Regions from separate parts of the Homo sapiens genome. Here region 1 is linked to region 2. Evidence: promoter capture Hi-C in human tissues and cell types (Jung and others, 2019). All regions are on one chromosome and are shown on one strand. Each heading gives the region's core, a stretch centred on a gene start or on the middle of the fragment in contact. The rest is flanking DNA. Distances are from core to core; before and after follow the strand shown. Region 1 has its middle 19 kb from the start of AMANZI. Region 2 holds the start of IL1A (interleukin 1 alpha).

Region 1 (6,544 bases), core at 1,018-3,517, 74 kb after region 2:
TTGCTTTCTTGACTAGTAATAGTAGTAGATATTTCTGTAATAAATGTTCTCTCAAGATCCTTAAAATCTCTTGGAAATTATAAAAATATTGGAAAGAGAAGAACAGTTTTTAAAATATATATATATATATATATTTTTTTTGAGATGGAGTCTTGCTCTGTCGTCCAGGCTGGAGTGCAGTGGCGCAAACTTGGTTCACCACAACCTCTGCCTCCCGGGTTCAAGCGATTCTTCTGCCTCAGCCTCCTGAGTAGCTGGGACTACAGGCGCCCGCCACCACGCCCAGCTAATTTTTGTATTTTTAGTAGACACGAGGTTTTACTATGTTGGCTAGGCTGGTCTCAAACTCCTGACCTTGTGATCTGCCCGCCTTGGCCTCCCAAAGTGCTGGGATTACAGGTGTGAGCCACTGCACCTGGCCAGTTTTTTAAATATATTTTTAAAAACACTTGAATAAGAGTCAGTGTAAACTAGAAGTTTAAAAATGCTTCACAGAACACCCAGGGTTTACATTACAAGATTCTCACAACAAACCTATTGTAAAGGTGAGTAAGGCATGTTATTACAGAGAAAAGTTTGGGAGCAAAACTGTAAAAAATTATATTTTTGTTGTATTTTCTAAGAGAAAGAGTATTGTTATGTTCTCCTAACCTCTGTTGATTACTACTTTAAGTGATGTTCATTTAAAACATTGCAAATTTAAATAAGAGTTTTAAAAATTAAGTAATGACTGCCCTGAAACAAAATCATTCCCAGCATACATTTTTGTTTGGATTTATCAATCAAGCAATTTTATACTTATCCCTGTCAAATACTATAAGGTGTCAAAATTTGGCATAGGGGTTACAAAACTATAAACCCAGCCAAAACAGAATAATCTTTGCTTTTTCAATCTTTGATTAAAAAGACATTACTATTGGTTTAATGAAAATAGCTACATCTTGCATTATTTAGTAAAATTACCATAACTTCTAACTTTGTGGCTTTAGGCAGTCTAGTCCACAGGCAGGAAGGAGGTTTGTTTTGGAAAATGACTGTTATCATCTTTTGTTTCAAAGCTAAACTATAAACTAAGTTCCTCCCAAAGTTAATTCAGCCTATGCCCAGGAATGAACAAGGACAGCTTGGACGTTAGAAGCAAAATGGAGTCAGCTAGGTCAGATCTTTTTCACTGTCTCAGTGATGGCAGTTTCATAACTTTAAATGATGGCTATCACAGTTTTCATAAATAATCTAGATAAACAGTTAAAATAAAATAATTAGGTAAATGTAATGGGATAAATATTTGTAGACAAACTCACCATAATTTAGAATCTAAAGTTAAATTAAATAATAAGTATTTCATTATTTGGGTATTTTCCAAGAAAAACATATTGTAGGAAACCATTCTTTCTAAAAAAAAAAGTGTCCTTTTAAAAAGGTGAATAATTTTTGTCTAATTCAAAGCTTATTGAAAAGTTATGTATAAAACAAGGTAAAAGGAACAAGGAAATAAGGGAAATGTAAAGAAAATTATAGAAATAAAGTGGTATTTTTTGGTAAGAAAGCTTAAAGAGAAATAATTTTAGGTAAGAAAGAATCTTACCTAAAATTTTGTGCTAGAATAAAGTGACTGGCTAAGAAAGGGATGTTCAAAGCTATTTATGACAAACCCACAGCCAATATCATACTGAATGGGCAAAAGCTGGAAACATTCCCTTTGAGAACTGGCACAAGACAAGGATGTCCTCTCTCACCACTCCTATTCAACATAGTATCGGAAGTTCTGGCCAGGGCAATCAAGCAAGAGAAAGAAATAAAGGGTATTCAAATAGGAAGAGAGGAAGTCAAATTTTCTCCGTTTGCAGATGCATGATTGCATATTTAGAAAACCCCATCATTTCAGCCCCAAAACTCCTTAAGCTGATAAGCAACTTCAGCAAAGTCTCAGGATACAAAATCAATGTGCAAAAATCACAGGCATTCCTATACACCAATAATAGACTAACAGAGAGCCAAATCATGAGTGAACTCCCATTCACAATTGCTACAAAGAGAATAAAATACCTGGGAATACAACTTACAATGGACATGAAAGACCTTTTCAGGGTGAACTGCAAACCACTGCTCAAGGAAATAAGAGAGGAAACAAACAAATGGAAAAACATTCCATGCTTATGGATAGGAAGAATCAATATCGTGAAAATGGCCATACTGCCCAAGTAATTTATAGATTCAATGCTATCCCCATCAAGCTACCATTGACTTTCTTCACAGAATTAGAAAAAACTAATAGCCAAGACAATCCTAAGCAAAAAGAACAAAGCTGGAGGCATTGTGCTACCTGACTTCAAACTATACTACAAGGCTGCAGTAACCAAAACAGCATGGTACTGGTACCAAAACAGATATATAGACCAAAAGAACAGAACAGAGGCCTCAGATATAACACCACACATCTACAACCATCTGATCTTTGACAAACCTAACAAAAATAAGCAATGGGGAAAATAATTCCCTATTTAATAAATGATGTTGGGAAAACTGGTTAGCCATATGCTGAAAACTGAAACTGGACCCCTTCCTTACAACTTATACAAAAATCAACTCAAGATGGATTAAAGATTTAAACATGGCTGGGCATGGTGGCTCACGCCTGTAATCCCAGCACTTTGGGAGGCCGAGATGGGTGGATCATGAGGTCAGGAGATGGAGACCATCCTGACTAACACAGTGAAACCCTGTCTCTACTAAAAAATACAAAAAATTAGCTGGGCATGGTGGTGGGCGCCTGTAGTCCCAGCTACTTGGGAGGCTGAGGCAGGAGAATGATGTGAAACCAGGAGGTGGAGCTTGCAGGGAGTGGAGATCACGCCACTGCACTCCAGCCTGGGCAACAGAGTAAGACTCCATCTCAAAAAAAAAAAAAAAAAAAAAGAAGGATTTAAACATAAGACCTAAAACCATAAAAACCATAGAAGAAAACCTAGGCAATACCATTCAGGACATAGGCATGAGCAAAGACTTCATGATTAGAACACCAAAAGCAATTGCAACAAAAGCCAATTGACAAATGGGATCTAATTAAACTGAAGAGCTTCTGCACAGCAAAAGAAACTATTGTCAGAGTGAACAGGCAACCTACAGAATAGGAGAAAATTTTTTCAATCTATCCATCTGACAAAGGGCTAATATCCAGAATCTACAAGGAATTTAAACAAATTTGCAAGAAAAAAAAACCCATCAAAAAGTGGGCAAAAGATATGAACAGACACATCTCAGAAGAAGACATTTATGTGGCCAACAAACATGAAAAAAAGCTCATCATCACTGGTCATTAGAGAAATGCAAATTGAAACCACAATGAGATACCATCTCATGCCAGTTAGAATGGCGATTATTAAAAAGTCAGGAAACAACAGATGCTGGAGAGGATGTGGAGAAATAGGAATGCTTTTACACTGTTGGTGGGAGTGTCAGTTAGTTCAACCATTGTGGAAGACAGTGTGGCAATTCCTCAAGGATCTGGAACCAGAAATACCATTTGACCCAGCAATCCCATTACTGGGTATATACCTAAAGGATTAGAAATCATTCTATTGTAAAGACACATGCACATGTATGTTTATTGCAGCACTATTCACAATAGCAAAGACTTGGAACCAACCCTAATGCCCACCAATGATAGACTGGGTAAAAAAATGTGGCACGTATACACCATGGAATACTATGCAGCCATAAAAAAGAATGAGTTCATGTCTTTTGCAGGGACATGGATGAAGCTGGAAGCCATCATTCTCAGCAAACTAACACAGGAACAGAAAACCAAACACTGCATGTTCTCACTCATAAGTGGGAGTTGAACAATGAGAACACATGGACACAGGGAGGGGAATGTCACACACCAGGGCCTGTCAGGAGGTGGGGGGCAAGGGGAGGGATAACATTAGGAAAAATACCTAATATAGATGACGGGTTAATGGGTGCAGCAAACCACCATGGCACATGTACACCTACGTAATAAACCTCCATGTTCTTCACATGTATCCCAGAACGTAAAGTAAAATTTAAAAAAGAAAGAAAGAAAGAAAAGGATGTTCACGACAAACCAGAAAGTCCAAGCATGTCATGAATAGTCTGTGTAAGTCACAATAAGAGGATTTATTTAAAAAAACTTTTATATGATAAAGTTGTCTATAATTAAAGGGAAATTATAATGGTCTTTCTAGAGATTGGGTTGATGTTAAAAAACTACTTATATATTAAAAAATTGGTTAGAACAATGAAATTTTCTTACGGGGTTGATTCACTCTTAATAAATTATAAGAGACTTAAGAATTTTTTTTTAACCCAAAGTTCAGCTTTTATTGCATCTTGCTGTTTTAGGTTTTCTCTCCCCTTTAAAAGGGTGGGAAATAGTAATGCCCTCCTTCAACTCCCTTCAGCTCATATACGTTTTTTACCCTCAGATTCTGTTTGTTGTGTCCTGATGCTAACAATGTTTTCTTAAAGGTCTAAAGGAAATGTTTTCTTCCAACATAATATTCTGTGCATTGCAGAAGGTCTTTTCTTTTGCCTTTTGGTAACTGGCTTAACAGATTTTATGTTTTATTGAAATAATTTCTATGCCATTATTATTAAGTTTTGGTTTGCTTAGAAAACACTGAGATTAATACAATTTTTTAAAAATTATGATTATTACATCCATATATCTTTATGTATGTGCTTTTAAAGTCCTTGTGACATTGAGTTATAGGGCTTGACTCCTGGGTCTTAAAAGGACAAGTCCTGCTAAATCTTAAATACTGACAGCAATTAAAGGCTCATCTTCAGGACTGGTAGAAAATGCCAATCAAAATAAACTGCATTCTTGAAACACAGAGCCAGAAATTAAAGCTATTCAACTCAAGGCCCAGGAACTATAGTGGAAGAGGTGGGTGTGTGAGATTGTAAGGGCCAATTTTGAGAGATAAAATAAGTTCAATTTCTCTATAAATTAATCATAATCATTGATGTCCAAGCCACACTGATGCAAGATCAGCATATGGGTCCTGTGTCAGATTAACAAGGTTTTCTTGAAGCATTAACCTACTCCTTAATAAAGGTTATAGAGGTTATAAAAGGCTTCTGGAAGTTATAGCTATGGTCAAGATAAAAATTTCATAGATTGTTAATACAATTTTGGAAAACAAATTTAATTGGCTTCATGCTGTTTTTATTAGGGCTTATTGTTTGGAAAATTAAGTCTCGTCTCTCAAAGAATGAAGGCTTTCACCTTTTTTTTTTTTTTTTTTAATCCTTGAGTTATCACTTTGGTCAAATGAATGACTTATTTTACAATGACCTTTCATCAAGTGTTTTAAACCTTTCAAATTTGACAAACTTTCCAAAATCAAACTACAAATTATGTCTTTTTATGACCTAATGAATCCTTTAAGATACTAGGTTCCCTAAAGTCCAAAAAAAAAAAAAAGTAACATAATGTGGCTTATTTGGTATAAAAATTTTACAGGAAGCATTGTCAAATATGAAATAGTGTTTGGTTTTGTTTGGGCTGTATTTGTATAAATATGTTATTGGTATGTGTTCCAAAATTATAGGAAACTCCTATAATTCTGATATGACTTGGTGTACATTATCAGTAATAATTATAATTGTTATGGTAAATTATTGTGTGCCATGGAGGTAACAAATTTCCTCATCAAGTGTGTCTTTGACTATGGTTGCCCTAAAACTTTTTGCCATTCACAGACAATTGTCTTGCTTTGGTCCTCTTTAGAAGGTGGTTTTATAATCAGCTATAAAACTCTAACGGGTGCTCTTGAATGCAGGCTTAAGATAGCTTTGGAGACTGTGACATCAGAATAGAGGAAAAACTTTCAGTATTCATGGAGTGCTGAAATATTCATGAATATCAAGCAAAACAGGAATTAACTTCATAGATGGAACTAAAAGAATGCTGAAGTAATCTTTTTGACTTTTTTTCTTAAAATGTTGATCCTTCGTTTTGTTTTTCAGAGTCAAGGAAATTTTTCTGTTGAGATATTGACAGCTTTTAACAATTAAGTATACTCCAGTGAACACAATTTGGAGCATATTTGTTTCTCTCTATATATATTTGGAAACAATTTTTGAGTATTCTTAACTTATGGCAATATATTTACATAAGTACAATAAGAATCTATTTTCATTTGTAACAGAACACAGTTGGACAAACTGTTTATTTTACCAAGGCTTTGACTGCAATGCTGTCTTTACTTTAAGGAATCAAACTTGACTTATGGAGCCAATAAAAGCCCCTTAGGAAAACTGGCCTAATATCTTGTCTACCCAGTCCCCGTACAGGGTTCCTGACCTGTGGTAATTAAAGAATGTCACTCTGACAGGCCCAGGAGCCCAAAGTTTATCTTGGAATCTCAAGAGGAGAGGAATTCACCCAACTCATAGGTATTTTGATGGTACAAATCCATGGCTGGGCTCAGCTTTACAAAAGTCTTATTTGAGATTCCTTCTATGGAACAAAGTTACATCAAAGCCAATTTAAAAGTCCGTCAAAAACTAGTTA
Region 2 (6,509 bases), core at 930-3,429:
TTCCTCTCTCTCAGCTTCATGTTTGGAGACTTTCTCTAACCTCTGATGCTGGTGTCAGAGAAGACAACCACAACACATCACGTTAGGAGACAGACACCTGGTGAAGCGGCCTGCGGGGCCTTTCTCAGGATGGCATAACTAACATCCTGATGAAGCCTGCCCCAGGAGACTCCAGTTCTCAGGGATTTGGGATGGTTCTGCTCTGTTCTGGGAGAAGCCAATGCACATCAACTATTAGTTTAGAGAGGCAGCTGGTCTCACTTATAATGAAAGACAGGTCTCTGGACCTCTAGTGAGGGTAAAACAAAAGTATTGAAGATTCAAGTCATTGCTGTTCTCTTTGGATGAAGAAACCACTGTGTAAGAATAGCAGTCCCATGAGAATTACAGTCATTTGCTTACCTGATTCAGAGACAGATGATCAATGGAGGAACTGTCTTCTTCATTTTCACTGTCAAAATAAGATGATGAGAATGTAATTGTTGTTATTTCAGTGTGGTCTCTGGCCAATGTACTTTAATGACCATGATAGTTGTGGGTCACACACATACACATGGCCATTACTGTCATCTTTGAAATTTAAGGACTTCTACACATACACATAGGTAGAGTAATTCATATCTTACTAATCTGGAATTAGTAGTCATCAAGACAGGCTTTGAGCTTTACCTGTGCTTTATCTGTAAAAATTGGACTTGGCTAACAAATTGAAGAGCTTTAATTGAAGTTCAGGGAAGAATGTTAAGCTCCTTTAGAGAAAAGAAAGGTTTTGAAGCACTTCCTTTTTATTTTAACCAAATAGATTATATGTTACACATTACTTTCATGTATTCACTAAAACAGATTTCATAATTTATACTTAGTAAAATATCCAGGCAAAATTTTGACAGCCTAGTTTGTGTTAGTATTTACTACAGATAATGGAAACATCATGTTAGTTTAATATGTTCCGTAATTTTATCTTTGTGTTCATTTACCTTTCTTCTACATCTGAGTGAGATTTGCCTGCATATGTGAGTTCACATGCCCAGCTTGCTGTGGAGCCATTTCCTGTTCCTGAATGAGATCAAGTTTTCCTGAGAATGGACCAGTAAAACCCATTCTTATATCAGGGCATGTGATCTCAACAGAGGCTGTGTCTAAGTTGATGCTGATATTCATGTAGGGCTCAGCAGACCTCAAAAATAATTTTTCTAAAATGGCGGTCTCCCTGCCAATGTAATCTCAGTTTAACATGCTGAATGCTTAGTTTTTCTGGGTCTTCTCTGAACCTGCTCTGACTTCAGGACTAGTACACATCTCTACAACCTCTGCCGGCCTGCCCCCATGCTGGCCACTGTTATGCCTAGCTGGATTCTGGTGAGCCTTGAAACCCTCATTAAATCACAAGAGATAAATCTTATTCCTTACCTGTAACAGTTCTTCAGGTCTTCAAACATGTCTGGAACTTTGGCCATCTTGACTTCTGCAACAGAGAACACCAGCCACCATCAGCTCAGCCAGCCTCTAATCCAGATATCTGTGAGGGGAGCCCCTCCTCTTTGTGCTTCCTGAAAACTTTGTTGAATGACTTAGTCCACATTCAGCATTTTCTCCATCTTCTAGCTCCTTTGAATTAGTTTGCTATGTACCTGTCTCCTTTATTAGATCGTAAACTTCTTTTAGAATGTTTTATTTATGTTGGTATTCCTTATGTGCCCAACCTAATGTATTGCCAGAACAGGCATTCAATCAATGAAAGTTTGAAGAGGTTACAAAAACACCACAAGAATAAGGTATTTGCCTTACACAGAGGTAAGAGAGAGACAGAGTTGGAAATTTTCAATTTTCTCCTAATAATTTTGGATAGTAGAGATTCCCTCCCATGAGAAGCCTCAGTTGTATTCACCCATGCCCTCATAGGAAACTAGTTCTGCTGTCCCTCAGTATAACGAATCAGTCCTTATCAGCAAAATGAGAGAATCATTTTCTGAAATCTGACTGTAATTCTAGGTCACATACCAAACCAGGGAGGGACAAGAAAAGAAAGGAGAGGCTGTAGCTTTAGAGAAGGCAATGTGAGAGAAAACAGCCAAAGAGAAAAACAACAACAGAAAATACTTTAATAGCCAGAGATGTGAGGACAATACCTTTGCTGACTCAAACGCCAATGAAATGACTCCCTCTCTGGCTGGCAGCTTAAGCCTGAGTCAGTCTTCTTCGCCTTTTGTAATTGTCTTAAGTAGGCGTGGCTACGTGGCTACAAGTGCGTCGTCAAAACGGGGAATTTACAGGGAAGAATTCAGTTTTGTATTTTTCTATGTTCATTCAACTCGATACTGGCTAAAATAGTGAAAGATGGCATAGCTGATATTATTGTTGTTTGCAGATATTCCAGAAGTTATTGATTTGGTTCATTTATTCACCCCTTTGCTTTATAAGATGACAAACATGTAGTCTTAGAAAAAGGGAAGCGCGGGAAACTTATCAAGTTTCTAGGAGGAAGGGAGAAATCGTGAAATCCGAAGTCAAGGGGCTAGATTTGGAGAGGAATTTATTAATAATAATAGTTCTAATAGTAGCTGTAGTTGTGTTCTGGCTGAATTTGTTGATTGTGCTCCAGGGTGAATTGGCAGAATACTTGGCAGCTCCTGGCAACTTTTGAGGGAAAATGAGCCATCTTTTCTGAAGAGGGAAGTTTGCTTGATTAAGGCATAAATCACCTCAGAGTTTGGGGTGACAAGCTCCTGGTTAGGGCAGGGTAGAGAAGAGAACAGTGGTATTTGAGCACAAAGAAGTCTTGATCCTCTTACTCTTCTGAATATTGTCAACACATTTCCTATAGAGGGGATGGAGCTTCAGGAGAGAACTCTCCACCCTGGCCCTGTTACAGTAAAGTAGCCCTCTACCAAGGACCAGAGAGAAGCCTGGTCTTCTGTAGGATATGCCCAAGGTGTGTCTTCTGTAGAAGAAGGTGTGTGCAAGCCCCGGGAGGTATGCGTAAGGCCTCAGCCAGAAGCCAGTGGCTAAGTTTGGGAATGGAGATTGGGAGAAAGGAAGGCATGGATTTTTACATATGAGCCTTCAATGGTGTTGCCTGGTTACTATTATTAAAGAATTTCTCAGCTTTTATAATTCCTGTGGCCAGCCTAGTTCAGGTGGTAGAACACCAGACTCTTAGCAAATGAATGTTTTGGGTTCCCAGTTGGAGTTTAAGCCATGTATATTTTAAATAGAGGAAATGAACTAGGTGTGATGGCATGCCCCTGTAGTCCCAGCTATTCAGGAGGCTGAGGCAGGACAATCACTTGAGGCCCAGAGTTTTAGTCCAGTGTGGGCAACATAGTGAAGCCCCCATCTCTAAAAAATAATAAACGCAAAAAAGCATGGATCTGGGAGGAAAGCAGCTTGTGTGAGTTGGATAAAGTATTCCCTCTGTTCCTGTTTAATTGTAAATAATGGGGTTGGTTAGGTGTCATAAGGTCTATTGCAGGTGCAAAATCTCTTATTCTGATTTAATGCCAGTCTAATTCTCCTGGTCATAGACCTGGTGCTATAATAGTTATAACAGGAGCCACAGAAATAACCACACTTGGATGTAAGCAATGTAAGTGTAGCACCAGACTAGGGTAGAAGCTTGGGTGTCTAAGGATGAATCCTGAAGCAACAGTGATGCCAGCCAACTGGCTACATTTCTGCTTACCTTGGTTCCTCTTTAGGCAACACAGAAATGTTAATCCTGATTAACCCTCTCCTCCTGAGAATCTTGTGAGGGCTATTGCTAAGGAACAATTGCAAAGCACATTGTGAATGTGAGCTGCTATGGAGATGCAACTAAACAAAAATAATGACAATGCTAATGATGGCTTCAGTCACTCAAGAACCTGTATAGTCATCATTATAATGCCTCAGTTCACCAAAGAAAATATAGTTCTTATGAAAATACTGGCTTGAAAGCTTCAACAGGGATAACATTTTCAGGTGAAGGCCACCATTGAAAGCCTGAAGATATTTAGCTTCTGGGAGCAATGCATACCATCTCTTTGGTAATCCAGGAAAAAAACCCTGGTTCCACCAACATAGGCAATACCTATCCTGGTCCCATCCTCACTCCTCTGTTGTAAATAATTCCCCAAAGGTGGTTGTTGAATTTTTCAAAGAGAACTTGGTTGAGAAACAGCTAACTTGGGTTAGAATATCACCCAACCTTTTCCTTCACATGATCTTCTTGTAAATTGATTTTTAAAGGAAAACTAGGGTGGGTGAGGTTCAGAGAGAGGTGGGTCCTTGCATTGTTTTGGGGAGCCCGCTTTTCTGGGACTGTGAACAACAGTCACCTCTTCTAGGGAAGGGACAGTGGAACGTACTGGGCAGGGCTCTACTGGGTAGATAGTGGAACATACTGGGCAGGCCTGTGGTGTGTGCGTTGGGAGCCATCCTGTGACAGGGACTTTGGGTGGCTTCAGGCACCCACCTCTCGACTCTGAGGAGGCCTCAGGAAACCCTTAATGAGTCACTGTCATCTAAATCATTTAGGAAAAAAAAATTATTGTGCACTTATCCTATGCCATGGGTTTTGCTAGGAATCAGCAGTTTTTCCCCATGATCCACAAAATCAGATATGCAAGGTGAGATGATCTATGTTGGTGGGTGACTGGATATGTTTTATAAGATTGGAGCTTGTGGGTCCAAAGAATCACTGTGATGCGTTTCATGTGACAATTGTTTTATAGTTTACCTGCACTATCTCACTGCCTCCTCACTGCACCTACAAGAATTAGCTGATACTATCCTCTTTCACAGCTGAGGACCCTTGAAGAGGTTAAGTGACCAACCCAAGATCACAAGACTGATGAAACCAGTGCTTGAACTCAAGCTTCTGATTCCGAGTCCAATCTTCTCTTTCCACTGCATAAAGATACTCGAGTCTCTTATCACCACCAACACCAAGTGATGGCTTATAAAGATCATCCTTAGGGTCTTTCCCCCTCAAACGTGCTATCATTCAGTAACTCTAGGATCCTTGTTAAAAAAAAAAAAAAAACGGGGGTTGCGGAGAAGGGATTGAAATATCTCCTCTCCCTGTCTTCACCTCCTCTGATGAAATCTGATTTTATTCTGTGATATGTAAGACCTGAATGAAGGTGACTGAAGTAATTGGGTACATGGTTAGTGGTGGAATCCGGATGTGAACCTGAGTCATGGTCTTGCCATTGTTCCTTGAAGACAGGAAATATTTGTAAATATATTTGGAAGCAACTTTAAAATTGTTGCATGTGGTTGGGTCTAACAGAATCACTTGAATGAAGAGAAAAACATAACTTTTTCCTGTGAATTTTCAGGGAAATGCAATTATTTCCTTTCACTTGGTATAAAAGCTCTTCAGAGGAATAAAGCATGCATGAGCCAACACATGCAGAGACAATTGAGCCTTTAGTCGCAACTCATGCTCTAGTTATAATGTGTTTTTAAATTCCATGATAGCTACAGAGAAGGAGGAAAGGACTTAACATAACAGCCTACCATGTTCAAGGGATTATAATACATTATCTCATTTAATCCTCTCATGAAACCTGTGAGGTAGATGTTCTTATCACATCTTACAGAAGAGGAAGTCATGGTCTAGAGAAATTAAGCAATCTGCCCAAGATTGCAAGGTTACCAAGTTTCCTAAATGGGATCCAGACACCAGGGCATACACTTCTTCAACCATGAGGATGTCTCTTTTGCTTAATGTAGCTGCTTCCTTTCCTGTGTTCTTTTAAATTAAGTTTTAATTATTCTGCTTTATCTTAGTTTATTGAAGGTTCCAGAATATGTTAGAGAAGGATGCATGTCGGAGACCATCTAGTTTAAACTCTTACTTTTATAAAAGAGGAAACAGGGTACAGGGGAAGTATGGCCCGAGGTCACATGGAGAATTCATATGAGAGTGTGAGGTAAAATTAAAACTCAATTTCTTGAGTTCTAGTTCAAAGTATCCTACTACTTAGTGACCCTGGTGCCTTAGTGAAGAGAGAAAGAAAAGAAGAAATAATCTCTAATGGCTTCTCACCCATAAGTAAAAAAGGAGTGGCTGGGTGCCGTGGCTCATGCCTGTAATCACAGCACTTTGGGAGGCTGAGGTGGGTGGATCGCCTGAGGTCAGGAGATCGAGACCAGCCTGGCCAACATGATGAAACCCCGTCTTTACAAAAAATACAAAAAATTAGCTGGGCGTGGTGACAGGCATCTGTAATCCCAGCTACTCGGGAGGCTGAAGCAGGAGAATCACTTGAACCCAGGAGGTGGAGGTTGCAGTGAGCCGAGATCATGCCATTGCACTCCAGCCTGGGCAAGAGTGAGTCTCCATCTCAAAAAAAAAAAAAGTTACAAAGAATGAAACCCCGTTAAGTAAGTAAAATCAGCTATGATTCCTGCTATCCTGAAAGCTGACAGTGAAGACCTTCATCAACACTTTTCTAAATGAGTAGATAATTACAAACTGAGATAAGCACGGTAAGGGCGTGTGACATAAGCACATGTCTTAG

The links. Contacts are between HindIII fragments. The study calls those that stand out against the background at their distance.
Region 1: a fragment that was not itself captured here is called in contact with the fragment with the promoter of IL1A in region 2 in 3 of the 25 tissues and cell types used here (H1 embryonic stem cells, liver and spleen).

What each region holds. Positions count from the first base shown.
Region 1 is chr2:112,855,871-112,862,414 of GRCh38, forward strand. No RefSeq gene overlaps it. Among named protein-coding and RNA genes, the nearest start is that of AMANZI, 19 kb to the left of the region's middle. The HindIII fragment of the contact is 6,957 bases long and covers 1-5,746 here.
Region 2 is chr2:112,782,314-112,788,822 of GRCh38, forward strand. IL1A (interleukin 1 alpha) reads right to left here and starts at 2,180. Exons shown (of 7, transcript NM_000575.5): 1 at 2,130-2,180; 2 at 1,411-1,465; 3 at 403-451. The coding sequence starts at 1,457. The HindIII fragment of the contact is 8,255 bases long and covers 1-3,775 here.